5 separate regions of the Homo sapiens genome follow, and all the other regions are linked to region 4. The links are contacts of gene promoters, found by promoter capture Hi-C in blood cells and fetal thymus (Javierre and others, 2016). All regions are on one chromosome and are shown on one strand. Each heading gives the region's core, a stretch centred on a gene start or on the middle of the fragment in contact. The rest is flanking DNA. Distances are from core to core; before and after follow the strand shown.

What was found. The method cuts DNA at HindIII sites, captures the fragments that hold promoters and counts their contacts. A CHiCAGO score of 5 or more calls a contact.
Region 1: a fragment that was not itself captured here is called in contact with the fragment with the promoter of SIRPD in region 4 in 5 of 17 cell types (non-activated CD4 T cells, total CD8 T cells, total CD4 T cells and 2 more); the score reaches 6.8 in non-activated CD4 T cells.
Region 2: a fragment that was not itself captured here is called in contact with the fragment with the promoter of SIRPD in region 4 in 6 of 17 cell types (activated CD4 T cells, non-activated CD4 T cells, total CD4 T cells and 3 more); the score reaches 8.3 in activated CD4 T cells.
Region 3: a contact is called between a fragment that was not itself captured here and the fragment with the promoter of SIRPD in region 4, in 3 of 17 cell types (activated CD4 T cells, non-activated CD4 T cells and total CD4 T cells). The highest score is 5.8, in activated CD4 T cells.
Region 5: a contact is called between a fragment that was not itself captured here and the fragment with the promoter of SIRPD in region 4, in 3 of 17 cell types (activated CD4 T cells, non-activated CD4 T cells and naive CD8 T cells). The highest score is 6.3, in activated CD4 T cells.

The regions. Positions count from the first base shown.
Region 1 is chr20:1,716,802-1,720,044 of GRCh38, forward strand. It overlaps the pseudogene SIRPB3P. Among named protein-coding and RNA genes, the nearest start is that of SIRPG, 61 kb to the left of the region's middle. The HindIII fragment of the contact is 731 bases long and covers 1,058-1,788 here.
Region 2 is chr20:1,757,954-1,761,292 of GRCh38, forward strand. It overlaps the pseudogene CKAP2LP1. Among named protein-coding and RNA genes, the nearest start is that of SIRPG, 100 kb to the left of the region's middle. The HindIII fragment of the contact is 3,391 bases long and covers 270-3,339 here.
Region 3 is chr20:1,698,335-1,702,051 of GRCh38, forward strand. It overlaps the pseudogene SIRPB3P. Among named protein-coding and RNA genes, the nearest start is that of SIRPG, 42 kb to the left of the region's middle. The HindIII fragment of the contact is 6,521 bases long and covers 1-3,717 here.
Region 4 is chr20:1,556,299-1,559,968 of GRCh38, forward strand. SIRPD (signal regulatory protein delta) reads right to left here and starts at 1,407. Exons shown (of 4, transcript NM_178460.3): 1 at 1,283-1,407. The coding sequence starts at 1,355. LOC107985409 (a long non-coding RNA gene) reads left to right here and starts at 1,709. Exons shown (of 3, transcript XR_007067493.1): 1 at 1,709-1,826. The HindIII fragment of the contact is 3,313 bases long and covers 72-3,384 here.
Region 5 is chr20:1,781,751-1,784,976 of GRCh38, forward strand. No RefSeq gene overlaps it. Among named protein-coding and RNA genes, the nearest start is that of SIRPA, 110 kb to the right of the region's middle. The HindIII fragment of the contact is 959 bases long and covers 773-1,731 here.

The DNA.
Region 1 (3,243 bases), core at 173-2,672, 160 kb after region 4:
AGCCAGAGAAATTAGGCAAGAGAAAGAAGTAAAGAGCATTCAAATGGGAAAAGAGGAAGTCAAACTATTGCTCTTTGCAGATGATATGATTATATACCTAGAAAATCCTAAAGACTCCTCCAAAAGACTCCTAGATTTGATAAATGAATTTGATAAAGTCTCAGGTTACAAAATCAACGTACACAACTCAGCAGCACTGCTGCACACCAACAACCACCAAACTGAGAATCAAATGAAGAACTCAGTCCCAAACAACTGCAAAATAAAATACCTAGGAAAACAAACAACAGTTGTAAAATAAATAAAATACATAGGAATATACTTAACCAAGAAAGTGAAAAATCTCTACAACAAGAACTCCAAAACACTGCTAAAAGATATCATAGGTGACACAAACAAATGGAAACACATCCCATGCTCATGGATTGGAAGAATCAATATTAAGGAAATGAGCATAATGCCCAAAGCAATCTACAAATTCAATGCAATTCCCATAAAAATGCTAGGAGCATTTTTCACAGAATTAGAAAAAACAATCCTAAAATTCATATGGAACAAAAAAAAAGAGCCTGCATAGCCAAAGCAATACTAAGCAAAAAGAACAGACCTGAAGGCATCACATTACCAGACTTCAAATTATACTACAAGGCTATAGTTACCAAAATAGCATGGTACTAGTATAAAAGTAGGCACATAGACCAATGGAACAGAATAAAGAACCAAGAAATAGAGCCCAATATGTGCAGCCAATTGATCTTCAACAAAACATGCAAAAATATAAGTTGGGGAATGGACACCCTATTTAATAAGTGGTGCCGGGAAAACTGGCAAGCTACATGTAGAAGAATGAAACTGGATTCTCATCTCTCACTTCATACAAAAATCAATTCAAGATGAATCAACGACTTAAATATAAACCTAGAACTATAAAAATTCTGGAAGACAAGGTTGGAAAAACTCTTCTAGGCATCAGCCTCAGCAAAGAATTCATGACTAAGCCCCAAAAGCAAATGCAACAAAAACAAAAATGAATAAATGGGACCTAATTAAACTAAAAAGCTTCTGAACAGCAAAATAAATAATCAGCAGAGTAAACAAACAACACATACAGTTGGAGAAGATATTCCCAAGTCAAGTTACAATTGACTGGTAAGGATACCGAGGCCCACGATGGTGGAGTGCCTTGTCCCAGATCACAGAGCTGGGAAATGTCAGAGCTGAGATGTGGCACAGGTGATGGGGCTCCAACCCATGCTCTCCTAACCACTGTGCTACTGACACTCAGTAATAACCCTAACACCATCACCATCCAGAACTCTGTGCACATCCTCTCCAATCCCCACAGAGTCCATAATGGTGACCATGATCATCACCATTTCACAAATGGGAAAACTGAGGACTCGAGGGTAGCCAAGACTTTACCAAGATCACACAACCTTGGGAAAACAACCCCATCATTTACTGGTCTATTCTCTCCCCAGATTAGCTGTATCCTCTTAACATCCTGGAATGATTGGTGTAATTATCTACACCCTACATATGAAGAAACAGGCTCAGCAAAGGGAACTGGGTTGCCTGAGATCACACAGCCTTGAAATAACACGTGATTTGGGAGAGTGCCTACAATGTGTTAGGTGATTTACAGAGAGAATCTTAAGTCCTTTCCACTCTCCTAAAGGAGTCCAAGATTGTCATGATTTTACAGATGAGAAAACTGAGACTAAGAGAGATGAAGGCACTGTCTTCTTATCCCCCGTGCATGACTTGGGCATTTCCTGTGTTTTGCCAAGCTTCCCTGTTCATCAAAGAGTAAGCACTAGAACTTCAACATCCCCAACAATGACTGCCACCTCCCTTGTCCCTTTCAGATTCTTGACTTAATGCAATTCTAGGGAGAAGTCTCCCTTCTGGGTGCCCAGGGCTGGTTACTCTGTAGTTCTCCCCTTGGGCTCCCTATGGTTACTCTGTACCCATAAACAGAAGACCTTGGGTTCCTAATAGCCCAAAAAAGAATGTAAACTCTTGCTCACACGGGGCATGAGAACTCTAGGAAATGTCTCATTCCCACATCCTTAGTCTTCGGCACCATGAGTGGGTGGGCACGTTGTAATGGCCCAAGTGGCTCACCTTGCCCATTGCCTAGACAGAGTCGATTTATGAAGACAGGGGAATTGCTTGAAAGAGTAATTCACACAATTCTGGCTTTGCGGGAGACCAGAGATTTATTATTACTCAAATCAGTCTCTCCGAGCATTTGGGGAGCAGAGTTTTTAAGGGTAAGTTGGTGGGTAAGGAGAAGCCAGTGAGCCAGGAGTTCTGATTGGTCAGGGATGAAACCATAGGGAGTCGAAGCTGTCTTCCTGAGCTGAGTCAGTTCCTGGGCAGGTGGCCATAAGAGCAGAGGAGCCAGTTTTTGGATCTGGGTGGTGCCGGATGATACATCAAGTTCAGAGTCTGCCAAATATCTCAAGCACTGATCTTAGGAGCAGTTTAGGGAGGGTCAGAATCTTGTAGCCTCCAGCTGCATGACTCCTAAACCATAATTTCTCATCTTGTGGCTAATGTTAGTCCTACAAAGGCATTCTAGTCTCCAGGCAAGAAGGTCTGCTTTGGGAAAGGGCTGTTACCATCTTTGTTTAAACTATAAACTAAGTTTCTCCCAAAGTTAGTTCAGCCTACGTCCAGGAATGAACGAGGACAGCTTGGAGGTTAGAAGCAAGATGGAGTCAGTTAAGTTAGATCTCTTTCACTGTCTCTCATAATTTTGCAAAGGTGGTTTCAGTGTGGTCTGCTGAAAGGCAGGAGGCTGGACTCAGCTCCATGGATGCTGCTCGATGAAGGAGAAATGGCACATGTAAGAAGAGTCCTAAATGCCAAGACATATCTTTTAGGACAGGTTCAACATAACATATAATGCCTGCAGGAACTTTCTGATGGGGGTTGTCAAGCCAGCCCCTCCTACCCACACAAGAAGAAGCCTTTTTTTTCTTTTTTTTTTTAATGTTTAGTGATATAGAACAGAACAATACAACAGTTTAGAACGAGAAGGTTGAAGCATTTCCCTACACTTCAGCAAGCACAGCTGGGTGTTGCGGAGACAAGGGCTGTGTGTCAGGCAGCTGGGGGTCAAAACTTGGCTCCTCTGCCTGCTCACAAGTCAGGTCCCCTCTCTAAACCTGTGTCCTCATCTATAAATGAGGCAGCAAATGGTCTCCCTCTCATAGCACTGGTTATAAGGAGAAA
Region 2 (3,339 bases), core at 715-3,214, 200 kb after region 4:
TTAATGTTTAAATGTCTGTTACTATATCCTCCCTGAAACAAACTGGAGTATGTCCTGGTTTTGGTATGTTTTACTTCCTATTCACTAACTTATACATGCTCTTTAATAATTAACCCTATTAACCTTTGTACCCTCCACCATTAATTTTTTATTTTTGATGCTTGAGTCCTACTAAGGGTCTGAACAAAGAGAGAGGGAACTGTCTTGGGGGCTTTTCTCCCAGTCTTGGAAGATCTTCTTGAGAGAGTTGCTATGACTTTACTGATAGAAGCTTGACTTGTGTTTCTCCAACAAATTGTTTATGAACTCTGTCTTTCAGGGCAGCACTAGTCACTGAATATCTGCCCAAGGCTTGTTGAGGAACCAAATTGCTCTTGGTTCAATTATGAGAGTTATTCTTTAACTTCTTTATAGTACATAATTGAGAGTCTGGCTTCCTCTCAGGGTCTGACAAGGTTTGAGGCAAATTCTCTTCATTAATCTCTTTTAGAAAGCTAACCAAAGATTAATTTTCAATGCGGGCATTTCCTATGGAGTCTGTACACTTAACATTCCTTGATATGTTAACTGCTGCTTTGTAGTCTTCAAATCCTGTGCATTAAGTGACCCCATGGGTTTTCTTGACAGCTTTTCCATGGTGAATGATCCAGCTTTGTGCTGCTGTAAGCTACTGCTGGAGGCTTACAGTTTGGTTAGAAGGAACATATTCAGCCTTTTGCCCAGTTTTAGTGGCTTCAACTTTGGCTTCTGGGACCTTGTAATATTGGCTTGTCTGGCCTGGAGTTTAATGCTGATGGGCCTTATGCTTTAACAGGCAAAACAGCATGATTGATAACATTCTCTTGGATAGATTTGGGCAATTATTTTTGGCTTTTAGATAAAGCTCAGTGTTTGGCACTTGAAGTTCCTTTCGACTTCTAGGTACTCCTGGAGCTTTCTCTGTTGTTCGGTGGCAGCAGTGGTGGTGACAGGCCCTGGCCTCACCATGACTTCTCAGTCACAGTGTTTCTTCCTCTCTCACCACTTTTATTGAGTATAGTACTGGAAGTCCTAGCCAGGGCAATAAGGCTAGAAAAGGAAATAAAAGGCATACATATCAGAAAGAAAGAAATAAAACTATCTCTATTTGTAGATGACATAATAGCCTTTGTAGGAAATTCTACAGAATCTACAGAAGAGACTCTTAGAACTGATAAGTGAGTTCAGAATGGTGACAGACTACGTGATCAACATGCAAAAAGTTAACTTTAATTCTTTTTTTTTAGACATAGTTTCACTCTGTCGCCCAGGCTGGAGTGCAGTGGCATGATCTTGGCTCACCACAACCTCCGACTCCAGAGTTCAAGTGATTCTCCAGCCTCAGCCTCCCAAGTAGCTGGGACTACAGGTGTCCGCCACCATGCCCAGCCAATTTTTGTATTTTTAGCAGAGACAGGATTTCACCATGTTGGCCAGGCTGGTCTCAATCTCCTGACCTCAGGTGATCCACCTGCCTCGGCCTCCCAACATGCTTGGATTACAGGCGTAAGTCACCATGCCTGGCCAAGTTACCTTTAATTCTATATACTAGCAATAAACCCATGAAAACCAAAATTTAAAATATAATACCATTTAATTTGCTCAAAAATGAAATAGCTATAAATTTAACAAAACATATATAAGACTTGTATGCTGAAAACTGCAAACACTGATGAAAGAAATCAAAGAAGATTCAAATAAAGAGGAATGTGTTAGTCAGCATTCTCCAGACAAACAGAACCAATAGGATACATATATCAATAGATGGATGAGATGGGATTTACTATGGGAATTGACTCACGTGATCATGGAGGCCGAGAAGTCCCGCGATATGCTGTCTGCAAGCTGGAGAACCAGAGAAGCTGGTGGAGTGGCTCGTTCTGCATTTGAAGGCCTGAGAACCAGGGGAGATGTTGGCGTATCTGTCAGTCAGAGGCTGAAGGCCTCAGACTCTACAGAGGTAGAGATTGGGACTGGGTAATCTCATAGCACTGGTGTAAGTCTTGGAGTCCAGTGGCCAGATAACCTGGAGTTCTGATATCCAAGGGCAGGAGAAGATTGGTGTCCCAGCTCCTGAAGAAAGAGTGAATTCATCTTTCCTCTGCCTTTTTGTTCTATCCAGGCTCTTAACTGATTGAATGGTGCCCATCTTCATTAGATGAGGGCAGATCTTCCTTACTCAGTCCACTGATTCAGACACTAATCTCTTCCAGAAATACCCTCAGAGACACACCCAGAAATAATGTTTTGCCAGCTATCTGGCTATCCCTTAACCCACTCAAGTTGACACCTAAAGTTAACCATCACAGGGAGACATGCTATATCCATGGACTGTGAGCCTCAGCATAATAAAAATGTCAATTCTATCCAAACTGATATATAGGTTTAACACAATTTCTGTCAGAATTCTAGACATATTTTTGTAAATATATATGACTATTTTTAAATTTATATGAACAAAGGGAAAAAAAGAGAACTGAAAGAGTCAAAACAGAATAAAGTGGAAGGAATCAATATACCTGATTTTAAGACATGATAAAGATGTAGTAATCAAAACTTTGTGATATTGGCAGAGGAACAGACACATAGATCGATGGTACAAAATAGAAAACCTGGAAACAGCCCCGTACAAGTACAGACACTTGATTTTTCAAAGTAGCAAAAGCAATTCAATGGAGGAAGGATTGATTCCACAAGTGAAACAGTCTTTTCAACAAAAGGTGCTGGATATCCATAAACAAAAAATGAACCTCAACCGAAACCTCATACCATACATTATACAAAAATTATCTCAAAATAGATCGTAGGTTCAAAGATAAAACATAAAACTATAAAATGTTTAGGAGAAAATCTTCAGGATCTAAGGCTCGATGGCAGATTCTTAGACCTGACATCAAAAGCATGATCAATTTTAAAAATTGATAAGTTGGATTTCATCAAAATTTAAAACTTTCGCTCTCCAAAATACCATGTTAAGGATGAAAACAAAGCTACTGACCGGGTGAAAATATTTGCAAACCACCCATCTGACAAAGGGTTCAAATCTAGGATATCTCTCTCAAAACTCAACAGTTAAAAACAACAAAACAAGACAAAAACTTCCATTACAAGTGGGTAAAGGTGGGAAAACTCAAACTGTTTTTCCTCTGCACTCATATAGCAACAATCAACACAGAAGACTTCTGTGACCAAATGTGGGAGATTTCTTCTCCACCAACAAGCAAGCAATCAATTCTGCAGCAGACACCAGCTGGGTGTCCTCAATCCAATTCTAATCTGATGCTATCTATCTGGAGGTAACGTCAGACACCACGGGGATGA
Region 3 (3,717 bases), core at 613-3,112, 140 kb after region 4:
ACTCCCGACCTCAGTTGATCTGCCTGCCTTGGCCTCCCAAAGTGCTGAGATTACAGGTGTGAGCCACCGCGCCTGGCCAGACTTTCTGAATCATTGCATTGGGTGGAGCCATGTGACTCCTTTAGGCCACTGAGTTGTGAGCAGAAATGATGGGTATAATTTGTGGGCTGTGCATTTAACTGCAAGAGCCTCTGTGGATTAACTTCTCCCTTCCACAGAGACCTACGAGGCTCTGATGAGGTCTGCTCCATCAGCCTGGATGCCTGAATGACCATGAATTCTCCACACACACTGAACATGCAGCTTAACTAACAAGTACAACATTGTTTTAAGCCCCTGAGAATTTCTCACCCATAGCATAATTACATTACCTTAGTTTCCTAATGTTGATGTGACAAATTATCAGAACTTAGCATCTTAAAACAAAAGAAACGTATCATCTTATAGTTCTGGAGGTCAGAAGTCCAAAATCATGTTACTGGACAGAATCAAGGAGAAAAATCTTCAGATATACAAAGATAGAGGATGACATGTTGGTGGCCAGGAGTGAAGTCGGAGAGGTAATGGGGAGATGCAGGCCAAAAGATACAAAACTGCAGAAAGGTAGGATGAAGAAGTCCAGAGATCTAATGTGCAATATGAGGACTAGAGTTAATAGCATTGCATTGAATTCAGTATTTTTGCTCAAAGAGTCTATCTTAGATGCCCTACACACACACACACACACACACACACACACACACACACACACACGGTAACTATGTGAGAGGGTGGATATGTTCATTTGCTTGACTGTAATAACCATTACACTATGTCTATGTATACGAAAGCACCATGTTTTACCCCTTAAATAAGAGGTGTCAGCAAAGCTGTGTGTATTCTAGAGGCTCTGTTCCTTGCTGCCACATTCCTTTCCTCACAGTTACATCTTCCCATCACTCCCACATCTTGCTTCCATTGTCATATGTCCTACAAAGACCCTTGTCATATATTGGGCCCTTTCTGACACTAGACCAAGATGTTAAATCACTGTCTTAAACATGCTCAAACAGCTAAAGAAAACAACAGAAAAAAAACTAAAGAAACATTGGAATATGATGCATTAATAAAATAAGAACAACAGCAAGAGAAATTATAAAAAATAAACAGAAACTTAAGAGTTAAACAGTACAATAATTGAAAAATCCACTAGAGGTGTTCTCCAACTGGTGTGAGCAGTCAGAAGAGAGATTCAGAAAACTGGAATATGGAATAATTGAAATTATTGTGACTGGGGAATAGAAAGAAAAAGGAATAAAGAAAAACAAGCAGAACCCGAGGACATTGTAGGACATTATCAAATGGATCAACACAAACATTGTTAGAGTTCTAGAAGAAGAAAAGAGGAAGAGAGAAAGGAACAGATTATTTGAAGACATAATACCCCAAAACCTTTTGAAACTTGATAGAATACATGAATCCTCAAATTTAAGATTCTGAAGAAACTCAAGTTTAACTCAAGGAAAAATTCAGAGACCCACACTAAGACACATTATAATCCAACTGTTGAAAACTAAAGTCAGGGAAAGAATCCTGAAAGCAGCAATAGAGAATGGATTCCTCACATACAAGAGTTCTTCAATGAGATGATCAGCCAATTTCTTATCAGAAGCACTGGAAGCCAGAAGGCAGAGGAGTGATATGCTGAAAATGCTGAAAGAGGAAAAACCTATCAACCAAGAATCTTATACCTGGGAAAACTATCCTCTAAACATGAGGGAGAAATTAAGATATTCTCAGATGAATAAAAACTAAGAGAGTTCACTACCATTAAACCTTACCTACAAGAGTGGTTTCAGGTAGAAATAAAAGGATGCTACATGGCAACTGCAAGTTGTATAAATAAAAATGTCCAGGCTGGGCATGGTAGCTCATGCCTATAATCCCAGCACTTTGGAAGGCCAGGGCGGGCGGATCACGAGGTCAGGAGATCAAGACCATCATAGCCAACATGGTGAAACCCTGTCTCTACTAAAAAATACAAAAGTTAGCTGAGCGTGGTGGTGCATGCCTGTAATCCCAGCTACTCAGGAGGCTGAGGCAGGAGAATAGCTTGAACCAGGGAGTCAGAGGTTGCAGTGAGCCGAGATCATGTAGCTTGAACCAGGGAGTTGGAGGTTGCAGTGAGCCGAGATCGTGCCACTGCACTCCAGCCTGGTGACAGAGTGAGACTCTGTCTAAAAAAAAAAAAAAAAGTCCTGCTACATGTAAATTTATTTTAGTTCATATTTTTCTGATGCTTCAACATCCCACAATCATGCTGTGAGTACCCTGCCCAGGTGACCAGGTGCACCAGTGTGATAAGGCTGGCTCCTGGCACAATTTCCCTTTCTTGCCCTCCCATATTGTGACCTAATCCCATAAAAAGACACCAGTAAATCCCATCATGCTCTTTGCTTGTACCCTCTACCCTGACTCCCAGTAAAGGCACTTGCTGAGGAATTCTTTCTCTCTTGCTTCCCCATCTGCTTGATTGAGCCTGCTTCCTAGGAGCTCTTCTCATATGGCTTTCTACGTAGCATGCCCTACTTCCCTCTCTAGGACCTGTGAGTAAAATAAATCATATTCCACATGCCTTTCCAAGTGAAAATTTCATGACCATCTTAGAGTGATTCATAAAGACCCAATAGCCTGACTTTAGCATTTTCAATACCAATGGCAATGAGAATGGGATCATTCTAAACTGGGGTGGAAATTTCCTAGGAGATGCTCTTTAACTATTCATGGCTTACTAATTTGCTACTCTGATTGGCTCCACAACTTGAGAAGGCTTTTTACACTGATGGCTTTCTTTTGCTGTGCTATGTGCAGCTTCATGTTACCTTTTGGAGTTCTGCCAAGACTCTCTATCCTGAAGTGAGGATCCTGTTTAAATATCAATAATGACATCTACATTTCTTCAAGAGCACAGGATGACATAACATTGATAACAACCTCTTCAAAGGAGATTCATGTGATGTGCATATTAACATCACATTATCCAGCATCTCTAAGTTGTTTTGAGGCGCCAGTGGCAACATATTCTTCTTTTACAAAGTTTATTTACAAATTAAAATCAATAGGCACCCCTGTTAGTGCCTATAAACAAAGAAACAAAAATACCTCTTCTCTGTGGAGACTTTAGCAATTTCTTTCATGCTTTTTGGAGTTTCTAGACCATTCATGATGGCCATACATCTCCCCAGGGCCTTTGATGCAAAAACAATGCCCCTCTCACCCTTGTGCTATATTCCATTAAAACAACAAATGCCTGGTTACCTACTGGGCTCTCCCATCCTGGAGTCCAGATCTAGGAACAATACTCTCCTGTTGCAATCATGAACCGTAGATTGTCCCACATGCAAGGCTCTGCTCATCTGAAATGGGGCCCATTGGAACCTAAACTTCCACTGAAAAGCAAAATTAAAATTTCCGTCAGGTGCAGCTGCACACCATTTTGTGGACTGTTGGTCTTATAATTTGTTGATGCAACAATTCTCAACCAAATACTAACAAACTGAATTTAATAGCATATTAGAAGGATTCTACACCATGAGTAAGTGGAATTTATTCCTAGAATACAAAGATGTTTCAATATACAAATGATAATGTAATATATCATATTACACAGTGAAGAGAAAAAGACACGATTATCTCATTTGATGTAGAAAAGCATTTGACAAATTTGAACATCTTTTT
Region 4 (3,670 bases), core at 157-2,656:
TAAGTATCTTAAGTTAGCTTTTACCTAAATATTTTTAGTCATCCTTAACTCTCCATTGAATAAAAAGAGGAAGCTTTATAGTTACCCTTCCTATGTATAAAGCACAGACAGATATAAATGCAGTACATAAACCAACAAAGAATATATCTAAGTTATTAAAATTTCATGTTGAGGCTATTATGAGTTGAATTGTATGCCTCCGAAATATATGTTGAAGTCTTAACCACAAGTAGCTCAGAATGTGACCTTACTTGGAAATAGAGTTACAGAGGAAATCAAGTTAAAATGAGGTCATTGAGGTGGGTGCTAATCCAATATGGTGGATGTTTTTATAGGAAGTGGAAATTTGGACACAGAGACAGACATACATGGGAGTAAGATGATGTGAGGATACAGGGAGGGTGGTGCCACCTGCCATCCAACAAATGTTTGAGGCTACCACTGCTAGAAGCTCAGAGACAGACATGGAACAGATTCAACCTCACAGTCCTCAGAAAGAACCAACCCTGCCCACACTTCGATTTTGAATATCTAGTCTCCAGACCTGTGAGAAAATTAATTTCTGTAATTTAAACCACCCAGTTTGCAGTACTTTTTAAGAGCAGCCAAATGCAGTGGCAACAGAGAAATAAAAAACTGAATTTCACAGAAAGAAGTGTAAAATCTGCCAGGGGCCAGGTGTGGTGGCTCACGCCTATAATGCGAGCACTTTGGGAGGCCGAGGCAGGTGGAACTCTTGAGCTCATAAGTTTGAGACCAGCCTGGGCAACATGGTGAAACCCCATCTCTACAAAAAAGACAAAAATTAGCTGGGCATGGTGGCGCGTGCTTGTAGTCCCAGCTACTTGGGAGTTGGAGGCACGAGAATCACTTGAGCCCAGGAGGTGGAAGTTGTAGTGAGCCAAGATCGCACCACTGCACTCCAGCCTAGGTGACAGAGTGAGACCCTGTCTCAAAAAAATAAGTAAAGGTAAAAATAAAATAAAATAAATTACACCCTCCAGAGGCTGGAGGGTGAGAGCTGTGATGGATGCTGTGCCCCGCCCTGTGACCATAGGTGTGAGTCGTTTACCTGAGCAAAGAGATTTGCAACAGACATGGCCACCGGGAGACTTTGTCAGAATTGGGGACCATCCCAGTGTAGTCTTCTGAGTTCTGCCTGTTCTGGGATAAGATGGAGAAAACCCTCCCAAAAGAAATTCTATGGGAACAGGTGAGGGAGAGTTCACTAAACAGGCAGAGGGGAGAACCCACCACACACATACACTGAGGCCCCACTCACCTGCCAGTTCAAGCAGCAGATACAGCAGTAAGGAAGGCAGAGGTGGGTGGAGTGGGGAGGCAGGGATGGGCATTGTGGTGAAACCTGGAGCTTGCTCTGCCTGAATGCCTGTCCTGGAGATGCCCTCGACTCAGTGCTCCGAGCAGAGAAGACAGTTCTTGCCTCTGTGATGTCAGAGGAAGGGGATTGTGATGAGAGGAAAGGCCAGGGGACTGGGACACTTTTTCCTTTGTGATTATAAAATTGAACAGACAAGGTTGCTTCAAGCTAGGAAGTTGCTGCTGGAAGTATTTAGCTTTGCTGGGGCTGGGGGGCTTGACACCCACAGCCTTATACTCCTTCCTGAGTTTCATCCCATCTCACAGGTTCTCCCCAACTTCATGGCCTTTGCCTATCTAGGAGCCTCAGACACATAGGCTAGACAAAGGCCTCATCCACATGATGCGCAGGTATGGGTCTAGCTCCTGCATGAGCTCAACATCTGGGCCTGTCTGAGCTGCACAGCTGAAGAAAGAGACAAGATGTCTATAGCCTCACCCACTTGGTAAGAGTTGGACTTTACAATGGATGCCCTTTCTTGCACTCCAGAGTAGTTAGAGGTAAAAAACAAGCAATATCTGCTGTGGGCTCTTGGCTTTTCTGTGGGTCCCTCCATACACTACCAGGAACTGCTTCCTTTTTCCTTCCTGCAGAGGAATCAGGCATGGCTGAGAAAGACATTCGAGTTGTGCAGGTGGTGATGATTTGTGCTTTAGAGGATGGAGGAGGCCTGCAGGGAAGGCGGAGCTGCGGGGAACACTCTCTAGGAGGGAGAGTAACATGCCTACAAACACCTGGGAAGGTGAGGGCTGCCTCTCCTGCTTGGGCTGGACCTGGGACCAGCTCTCAGAGATGGGATTGGAGGGGCAGAAGAAATGCCCCCAGAAAGAGGGAGGAAGCAGCATGTTGGCATCCTTCTCTCTCAGCTCTGGAATGGGTTCTTCCTAAGCACAAATGTTGTGTTCAGGGACACTCAGCCCACACTCAGCTGGTGACCCTTTAATGTCCAAGCATCCACAGGCAGGCACTGGCTGCCATGGCTGTTTCCCCATTGCCTCCTCATGACTTCTGCCTCCTCCTCAGGAACCAGCTAGATGTCAGGGCCGGGAGAGGTGTTAGACCCTCTAGGAAAAGAAAGCAGAGCCAGGCTGGCACGTTCTCTCTGAGACGACAAGAGTCCCCATCCCCTTGTGATGTCATCATCCTATCCCGTTGTTCTGAAATGATGAATTCCACAAAGGAATTCCTATCCATGGCCCCTGCTTGGAACTAGACAGGAACATTCCTCCAGCCTCCATCATCCTCCCCTTCCCCTACTCTGAGGAATCTTCTCACCTTTCATTAGACTCTAAGTTCCTTGGAGAGTCAGTACTCACGGGTCAGTATCCAAGAGTGCCAGCTTTGGAATCAGATATAATCTAGGCTAGAATCCTGAACGCACCTCCTAAGAGCTGAGTAATCTTGGGCCCATGATACAGACCTGTATATTCTGCAACCTTCTTGACATCTTCATTTGTATATATATATATATATGTATTTTTTTTTTCGAGACAGAGTTTCGCTCTTGTTGCCCAGGCTGGAGTGCAATGGTATGACCTCGGCTCACTGCAACCTCTGCCTCCCGAGTTCAAGTGATTCTCCTGCCTCAGCCTCCCGAGTAGCTGAGACTACAGGCGCCCACCACCACGCCTGGCTAATTTTTGTATTTTTAATAGAGACAGGGTTTCACCATATTGGTTAGGCTGGTCTCGAACTTCTGACCTCAGATGATCCACCTGCCTCAGCCTCCCAAAGTGCTGGGATTTCAGGTGTGAGCCACTGAGCCTGGCCTCTTTGTATACCTTAAATATTCAAGTTTGAGTTTCAGATCTGCACTCACAAACCTTATCTTCTCCCACACCATGCCTGTTTTGTATATGGTACCATCATCTAAGCAGTTTGTCAAACCAGGAAGGGACTCATGTTCTATACCCTCACTTATCCACTTGTTACCAAGTGAAAGGGGGTTGCTGCCTGATGTGCTAGAAGCCAATACTGTGACACCAGGCTTTTGAGAAAAGAAAAGCTTTTTATTGCAAGTTGACTAACAGGAAGACAGAAGTCTACCTCAAATCTAGCTCCATGTGCTGGCTTCAAGGCAGTAGTTTTATTAGCAAAAGTTTAGGGGTTGGATTCTGGGATTAGTATGTGATTTGTGAAAGGAAAGGGGAGGTCTGGAAAGTCCTTGGGCATGTACAGTTATCTCTCTATGCCTCTTCACGGCTCCCATGTGCAAAACCCTGGGGCGTCATCATGAAATACGTGGTAGAAACTCAGGCTGTGACATCAGCAAGCTCATTCTGAGCAAAC
Region 5 (3,226 bases), core at 2-2,501, 230 kb after region 4:
CTCTCTCTCTTTCTTTCTCTCGCTCTGTCTTTTCCACCCTTACACCCTCTCTGACCCAGAACAGGTAGCCACCCAGACTAGAGCTGACATCGGGAAAACTGGGAGGTGGGCTCCTCTTTTACCCCCTGACCTCCCCCGAGCCCCTCACCCTTAGGTCACTTCCTCTTCTGACCCCCAAGCTCCCACCAGCTCCCTTTGTCCGCAAGGTCTACATTGAAGAAAAGATGCAAAACAGCACCTGACTGGCAGGAAAACAGCTCAGTCACCTCCTCTGAGCCTCAGTCTTCCTTCAGAAAGACACAGTGGCTGGATTTGGTCATTCCTGGGGGTCTCCTTGCCTGCCCTGAGGGTCTCTCTGGGCAGGAATCAGGACTCACCTGTGAGTCCCAGCAGAAGGGTGGGCAGGAGGGAGCCCAGGGCCCGCCCAGGTGTGGTAGCCATGGTGAGAGACTCACAGTGCTCCTGGTCTGTTCCTGGTGGCAACCACTGGATAAGGCCCTGAAAGAGCCCAGGAGCCACTGACCAGCCTCTGACAGCCTGGAGCAGGCCTTATACTTCCCAGCTGCCTACCCCACCCCATTCTCTGCCATGCCTGGAACAGAGGCCTGAGCCACAGTGAGGGAAGTGGTCACTGTGGCCACGGCCTCCTTCCAAGCTGCAAACCTTCAGGCCTGAGGTGTCTAACCAGGGAGGCATCTGGAGCCTTTTAATGGGTTCCGACTGTCCCTGATTCCCCATGAGCAAAACCAGAAAGCGGCTGAGCTCTGCCTCAAGCTTCAAGCCACAGAGCTGGCCTCTGATAGGCTGAGCCTTGATGTCCCTTGTCCTGGAGGCTCCTCCATGCTGAACAAGCAGCATCAAGAGCCTGCCCTGTCCCAGGCCCAGACACGGCTTCTGGGAATGCAGAATGGATCAGATATGGGCCCAGAGGGTTGAGAAGTGAGCCTTGACATACACAACCACGTGCAACCAAGAAAGACCCTAGACTTTGAAACCCAACCCTTGCCTCACAGCTTAACTGGGCTTGGACAATGGTGGCACGGATTTCCCATGGCCCAGAACTGTCTACTAGGCTCCACGTTGGGGAAACATGAGTTTGAAACACAGCCACCAGTTTCCCTGACCTCCCTATGAAAACAACCTCTCCCTTTGGTCTCTCTCCATTTCCTTACCCTACGTTACTGGGCTTTCCAATGGTTAGCCCTGATGTATATTACTCGTTTTTATCCATTTCCCTCATGAAAAACAAATGATTTGCCCTGAAGACTACTGCTTTTTGTTCATGGCTGTAACCAGCAGCCACACAGTGCTGGGCACAGAATAGATACTCGCTAATAACAAATGAACCTTTGGGGCCAGGTATGTTCTCAAGACTGATTACAAAGCAGCCAAGCCCAGCCTGCTCCCCAGCCATCCCATCTCTTTGGGGTCTGTACGCTCAGCTAAAGTGGAGGGAGAGGCTAGAGAGGAGTTTTCTAGCCTGGGTGAGGCTGTTATGGAAACTCCCCTGACCTCACAACCCCCCACCACTACTCAGCCAAGCAAGGCACCCCAAAATGACTCCTAGATATTACGTGCCTGCAGGAGGAGGAGGCTGGCTTTTCTTTTTCCAGGTGTCTCCTGAAGCAACAGTGGATTTGCTGATCCACCTTGATGTTGCCCTGAGCAGGAGAAAAAGGAACTGAAAAGAGACAGCAGGGTAGAGTGACGGGGTGGCAGGGCAGCAGCTCAAGCTTCCTCCATGCAGAGTGGCAAGGGGGTGAGGTCCATGGAGAGACCCTCATTGAAAGGGGGGAGCCGACCTTAGAGCATCCCACTCAAGAGAGATGACCACTGGCAAGAGGGCCTAGGAGTAAGAGACTGCAGCATGGACTCCAGCGGGGAGCTGTGAACCTGGATCAGATCATGCATAAAAGAGACTGTGCAGCAGACTGTGTACCCCCACAGCATACACACATGGGCACACACACGTGCACATGCATGCACACATGCACACATTCAGGATCCTCCTAGGAATCCACACCTGTGCCCTAGGAGGCAGCTGGCTTCCAGAGTCCAGCCATAGTGAACAGAGCATTGCTGGGTAAAAGAAGTCCCTCTTTTTCCATCTCCCTTCCCAGGCCCTAACACACCAGATGATAGACAGACCCAATTCAGGGAAAGGAGGAGGGACAAAAGAATGCTTCACCTCCATCCCTTCCAGATCCCTCAGCAGGGACTTGGAGGCAGCAGTGGGCTGGGGTGAGAGAAGGAAGTGGACGCTGAACTAGATGTAATGTTGGCATTTTCAACCAGACTAGTTTGGACTGGGCAGGGCCTGACACAGAATAGTTACTTTATAAAGTTTGGTAAAATTATTCATCTACCCTCAGTTCCTTGGTGACACTAGCCACATTTCAGACACTCAATAGTCACGTGTGGCTACTGGCTACCATAGTCGACAGTGAGGTCTTGGGTGAAACATTCTTCATCAGGGAAGTCTTTTCTACCCTAATGTCTCCCTGTGGGTTCAAATACTTCTCTTGCAGAGCATTTATCACAGTTATAATTAAACTGTTAACTTGAAACTAGTTGCATAATAACTCTTTCCCTTATTAGACTGTAGGCTCTGGAGGACAGGGACCATGTCCTTGGTCACTAGTGTAAATAAGTGCCGGATGAATGTTTGTTGGATGGATGGATGGGTGGGTGGATGGATGGATGGGTGGATGGATGGGTGGATCCATGGATAAACAGACTAAGAGGAAGGTATGTGCTACAGGGCAAGGGACAGAAGGAAGCAATCCCACTGAGAAAGCAGAGAAGCCTTCCTGGAGGAAGTGGGCTTCCTTCAGGGCTCCTGTCTCAGCCCTCCAGCTTAATCACACCATCTACACAGAAGGAGAAGACTGGCAACACTAGGGCTAAGCTGCAGTGGGTGGGCAGCCATGGGCAGCCTGCCTTGTGGGGCTGGAAGGCTGAAGGGGAAGTGGAGAAGATGAGGTTCTCCAAGGAGTGGCCTGAGGAATGCCAAAGTACCCACAGGGCTAGCCCAGGCTGGGCCATGCGTCCACTGGGTAAGGCTTGGCTTCCTCTGAGTAGAGTCACGTCAGTCTCCTTCCTTATTCTAGCACCGGCAAGAACTGGCTGTCACGTACTCTATAAGCACAACCTTTTATAGGAGCTGGGGACCCAAGAGCCCTCATCATGAATATGGGCCCCTGTGCTGGCCTAACAGGCTGAGGGC